Regions from separate parts of the Homo sapiens genome. Here region 2 is linked to region 1. Evidence: promoter capture Hi-C in human tissues and cell types (Jung and others, 2019). All regions are on one chromosome and are shown on one strand. Each heading gives the region's core, a stretch centred on a gene start or on the middle of the fragment in contact. The rest is flanking DNA. Distances are from core to core; before and after follow the strand shown.

Region 1 (2,700 bases), core at 15-2,514:
CCTCTTTCTGAAACCACCTCCTGTTCGGCGGCTGTACTTGGACCTCAGTTTCCCTGTTTTGTTCACGTGGTCATTGTTAAGTCTTAGGGGACGTGTACAGAGGCTAATATTGAGCCACCAATCAGTTATTTGACAAATACCATAGGCGCTCTGTGAGCAGGAGCTGGCTCCTATCCCAGACCCCAGCCCTGTGACCTGCTCTCCACTCGCCCGGGGTCTTTCTTGGCTGGGACAATAAACCTACTGCATCAGGTGATTCCTGGGGAGTCAGCCCCGTGCTGGGCTCACACCCAGCCCCTCTGCGTTCATCTCTTACATGATCTCATGCGACCATCATCACACGTCCCCAGGCTCCTCCCGGGCCAACTCCAGAGGCAGTGCGTGTCACCTCCAGCTCTCCTCCCACAAAAATGCTGGCCTTTCAGCCTCCAGTGCGCTTAGTTCACCCCATAAACTCTGCTAATGCTTACCACATGCTGAGCGTCGGCGCCCGTCCCCACCCCCAGCCCCACAGGCTCCCGGGTCCCGCCCTGGGAGACCCTCCCACTGGCCGACCCTGCCCCAAGACTCGCCCACTCCACGGTGGGAAACCTGCAATGTGTCCCTCCCTACCCCGCCCTCCTCCAGCGCCGGCCAAAAGTGACCTTGGACGCTTCTACAATGCCATATCCACTCCTCTGAACAGGAGGCGAGTTTGCACCCAGTGGTGCCTTTGGTTGCTAGAAATTAAAAACCCGATTGCGCGTGTTTGCAATTACGGTAACTTGGCGCGTCACCCCCAAGCACTGAGCTAGCTGGTGGTAGCCGGGCGCCTCTCGGGGCGCGCCCTATTCCGCCCTCGGCCCTGGGCTGCCGCACGATCTGCGCGTCCTGCTGCACCTGAGCCCTTCCCACTCGGGCGCCCGCACCGCTGCGGGGCCGGGCGAGGATGCACCACCCCCGCCCGCGAGCCCGCCACGGGAGCGCGTGCCGAATCGACGCCGCCTGCAGTCCCCACTACGGGTCCCTAGGGGGCGCAGCCGGCGCGGGAAGCCGCCCGAGCCAGGCGCCGCGGCCGGCACAAAATTGCAGGCGGGCGGGCGCCGCGACTTTGAAAACAAGCGAGGGCCTGGGGGGCGGGCCCTGGGAGCGGGCGCCGCCTCCCTCGGCCAATCAACGGCGGGCGGCGGGCGGCGGGCGCGGGCGGCGCGTGCGGCCGGGCTGTGAATGGGGAGCGGCGGCCGCGGCAGCTGAGGGCGAGCGCGACCGCGACGTGCGGGCGGGCGCACTTTCTTCTCAGCGCCGGGCGGGGGCGGCGGCGGCGGCGGCTCCTCCGCGCCCGGCGGACCCCTCGGAGCTAGCGCGGCGGGCTCGGGACTGCGTGAGCGCCGGACGCGAATTTCCCCCGTTGACAACTTCTTCTCGCCCGGCTCGTCCCCGGCCCGCGCCGCGCCCCTCACGCGGGGACCCAGGACGCCGCCCCTCAGCGCTGGGCGGCCGCTCACCTCGGGCCGGGGGGCGCCGCGCCTCCCGCGGAGTGGCCGCGCCCGCTCGGAGCCGTCCCGCCTGTCCTGCCCGCCCGTCCGTCCGGCGCGGCGCTCGGGGTGGCGGCTGCTCGGCATGGCCCGGGGCGCCCGGCCCTCGGCGGCCGGTGGCGGCGGCGGCGGCGCGGAGCCCCCTGAGCGCGCGGGCCCCGGGCGGCCGCGGGGATCCCCGCCCGGCCGCGCCCGCCCCTCGCTGGCGCCGCGCCCCGGCCCGGAGCCCTCGCGACCCCGGGCGGCGCCCGAGACCTCCGGCGGGGACACGGCGGGCGCGGGGCGGTGCGGCGGGCGGCGGGCGGCAAAGTTGGGGCCGGGCCGCCGCGGCTGGTGGGCGCTGCTGGCGCTGCAGCTGCACTTGCTCCGGGCGCTGGCGCAAGGTAGGTGCGCGCGGGGTCGCGGGCCGGGGGCGTCGCCTCGGGGCGCGGAGGCGCGAACTTGAGCAGCGAGAGTGTGTCCGGGGTCCCCCCGCTTCCCGGCCCGGGTCGGGATGCGCCTTGCTGGGGGCTCTAGGGAGCCCAGGGGCTCCTCCACGCCAGACTCGGAGGAGAGGGAAACGGAGCCCCGTAGAGCCTGCACCCCGTCTGCTACTTTGCGTTTTATTTTTTTTATACCGCAGTAGCACAAACAAAAATTTTTAAGTTGAGGACCCATTTCTCAGCTCCTTAAAAGGATGCCCGAGTCCCCTTCCCATTGCATGGATGAAAAAGGGGCTGGTCTGTACCTGAGTCTTCGCACCGCAGGGTCTGGTTTCCGGTGAGTGACATCCAGAAGACTTGGAAATATCAAGTGCCAGTCGCTGTGAAAAGCCTTTTCCAGCCCCTCCCCAGGGCCTCGTCCTCTCCCCAGCCCCCGCCTGCTCCTGACTCCCCCAAGTCCCAAAGCCCGACCCCAAGTGGGTGCTGCGCGGCCGGTGGAGCAAAACTTTCAGTGCCCACAGCTTTTGCACTTGGCTTTGTTTTTCTCCCTCTATTGGCTTCTGTTTAGAATACAGTGGTGAGCTCTGAAATAGGGAAAGAGGATCTGCTGAATGGAAATGACCTTTTGAAACGAGAGATGGGATCTCTTGTGAAACGAGCTTTCCTTCCCAAATCTGGGCTTCCCTCCACCCCCTCCCCGCCCCCGACAAAACCCGTAACGTACCCCTGCCAGCTAGCATCGTTTTCTTTTGAAGTTTGCTGGT
Region 2 (2,700 bases), core at 33-2,532, 480 kb after region 1:
TACCTGCTTCCTCACTGGTAATTGTGATGATATTTTTCTCTAAAATCTATTTTGTAACTCATTCTTTCTGATTTTACTCTCAACCCCCTTGGCGCTTACATTGGATGAGATAAAAGTGTCACTGTAGGGCTGTAAACTTTGTTGTGATGAAGACTCTTGAGACGTAAAATGTATGCTCTAACTGCAGACCTGTGCAGAACGCGAGTTTGATCTTCAAGTGACTTTCGTTCCAGCCTTGATATTCAGATGCAGTGCACTAATTTGCCCTTATTGGCATCCTGTTTAATAGATATTCCTAAGCCTTTTTCCAAATAGTTGCATGTTTGAGGAAGACTTTATGGCTATCAAAGTGTTTACTCATATAATCCAGTTTGATCCTCACCTTGTGAGATCGTCAGGGCCGGTAGGATGGTTGTCATTTTACAGATGAGGAGACATTTTCTGATGGGAATTAGCCAACCTGTGGCTGAGCTGGAACCAGAACCCAGGCCTGTGTCCTTGTACTCAGGTTGCCACAGCATTCCTCCTGATGTGCCCAGCAGCAGGCTTCTAAAGGACCTGAGCCCCCTCTGCCAACAGTGTCCCCTCTTAGCTACTGGTGTGATATGTAGCTGTGAGTCCAGGGTGGGTATTCACATATTTTCGATTGACCACCAGCTTAAAACTTCCCATGCCACACCACACTGCCCATCTATATATTACTTTGCAATCATTATCATAAGCTTAAAACTTCCCATGCCACACCACACTGCACATGTATATATTACTTTGCAATCATTATCATAAGCTTAGAGACTTTACAGAAAGTCGTCCTTAAAGTGTTGCTAAAAAATATAGGTCAATTACAAAAGGAGACATGGTCCTTTTCTTTTTTCTTCTCCCCTAATTATAAACAATAAAAGCCACAGCTTCATGCTGAGAAAGGATCAGCAGGGAATGATGGACATTGTGATTTGGCAGCTGACATTTTCTAACATGATTTTGTTTTACATAAGTAGTTTGAAGTTTTTGTTGGTTATTGTCTTGCCTTCCTTTCTGACAAAGTAACATTTTTTTTGCCCATAAAAATCAAGTAGAGCAATGCATTTCCCATGCCGTCGTGTCTCCCATCTTGTAGCAACCAGTAGTGTATAAAATGAAAGTCTTCCCACCTTTAAGCAAATGTTTGTTTTCCTTATTAAGAAAGAAGTTTCATTTGAAGCTGGAGGTTTTTTTTTCCTAACTTATATTAGTCCATATTTTAATAGTAGTTTCCTAAAGAAAATATCTCAGCATGAAAAAGCAAGGTGATACTATATTTTAGAAAATGCCCTCATGGCTTAGATTTTAAAACTAATGCTTTTGTTAAGTGTTTTGGCTTTGAACAAAAAGCCTCCTTGAGAAACGCTATTTCCCATTGCACGGTTTCTTAACTCTCTGGGTTAAAGTTCGTATTTTCTATCTTTTTACATCTGGCAAATAGACCCAGAGAATGTTTTTGTTTCATCTAACAGTTATTTCTACAGATCTGACCAGGCTGCCTGCACACATCTATATTTTTACACTGACAGCATAAGTGTATGTTTTGTATTTCATTGTAGCGAAAGCACTTCACGTATGCTTATAGTAGGTTGAAGTATTTTTAGATCAAACGTGAATCCACCATGTTCCGTAAACTAAAATATATTTAATCTTAACAGAGTATACTTGGCGGAATGGCTGACTTTAAACATAAGCTTAAACAAAATGATGAGTTCATAATTATTTAATGTAAACTGAATAAGGTTGAAGGGCCCTGCAGGGTCGATTTCAAAGTGCTTCAATGATTACAAATTATAGACCGCCTTTCCAGTAAAACACTACTCAGGTGGGAGACTAGCTGGCAGCACTATAAAGTACCTAAATGGTTTCAGACTAAAGAATCTGTTAGTTTTGTAGGTTTAACATCCTTGACACTTAATAGGATTTGAGATTCCATTGTAGCAGCAGCTTTTATTGCATGACACTTTAATTGAATGCCTTAGAGTAAAATGAAATTAACAAAGGCAGTATTAAATTATGGATGTTCCTTTTTTATCATTTGGCTAAGAATTCTGCGGAGTTTCTTTTCTGATTATATTATTTTAAATTGATTGATGTGAAAAAATAAACACACTATCTTTAGGACTAGGTATACCATCTGGTCCAAGAAATTGTGAATAAAATGAATACAGAGCTGGAGTTGGCCAACTTGTCTCTCCTACGCTTCAGAAAGCAATTACGTTAGGGCTAGAGTAGTTTAAAAATGGCCTGCAATAAATCCCCATTCTTGAGTGGATAAGAGCAAGGCAGCTCCGTCTTTTGCATTGTAGCTACCAGAATGACAACGTATTCTGAGACAGATGGGAGACATCGAACAGTAGTTGATTTTTGTTTGTGAAGTGGTGTGGCAAAGCCAGTAACCTATTTTTTTTAAAAAAAAAAAACAAGGACAAATTTAACCAAATCTGACCTGTTTATATTTAAACATCGGTGATTGGAAAACCGTTTTCATATTTGGATATTGACGATCTTTATATTGCTTCTCCTTTTCTCTAATACTATTTAAAATAAGAATCTGCAACTAAACTAAAATATTCAAAAAATAATAAAGTTAAGATGATGAGTCCGGGCGCGGTGGCTCACGCCTGTAATCCCAGCACTTTGGGAGGCCGAGGCGGGTGGATCATGAGGTCAGGAGAT

What was found. Contacts are between HindIII fragments. The study calls those that stand out against the background at their distance.
Region 2: a contact is called between a fragment that was not itself captured here and the fragment with the promoter of SDK1 in region 1, in 2 of the 25 tissues and cell types used here (IMR-90 fibroblasts and dorsolateral prefrontal cortex).

Annotation. Positions count from the first base shown.
Region 1 is chr7:3,299,988-3,302,687 of GRCh38, forward strand. SDK1 (sidekick cell adhesion molecule 1) reads left to right here and starts at 1,265. Exons shown (of 45, transcript NM_152744.4): 1 at 1,265-1,897. The coding sequence starts at 1,600. SDK1-AS1 (SDK1 antisense RNA 1) reads right to left here. Exons shown (of 3, transcript XR_001744897.3): 1 at 2,242-2,700. RefSeq lists enhancers at 1-344, 345-856, 1,566-2,066 and a silencer at 742-1,291. The HindIII fragment of the contact is 11,292 bases long and covers 1-2,700 here.
Region 2 is chr7:3,777,028-3,779,727 of GRCh38, forward strand. All of the region lies in intron 4 of SDK1 (sidekick cell adhesion molecule 1), which reads left to right. Among named protein-coding and RNA genes, the nearest start is that of SDK1-AS1, 430 kb to the left of the region's middle. The HindIII fragment of the contact is 3,678 bases long and covers 1-2,700 here.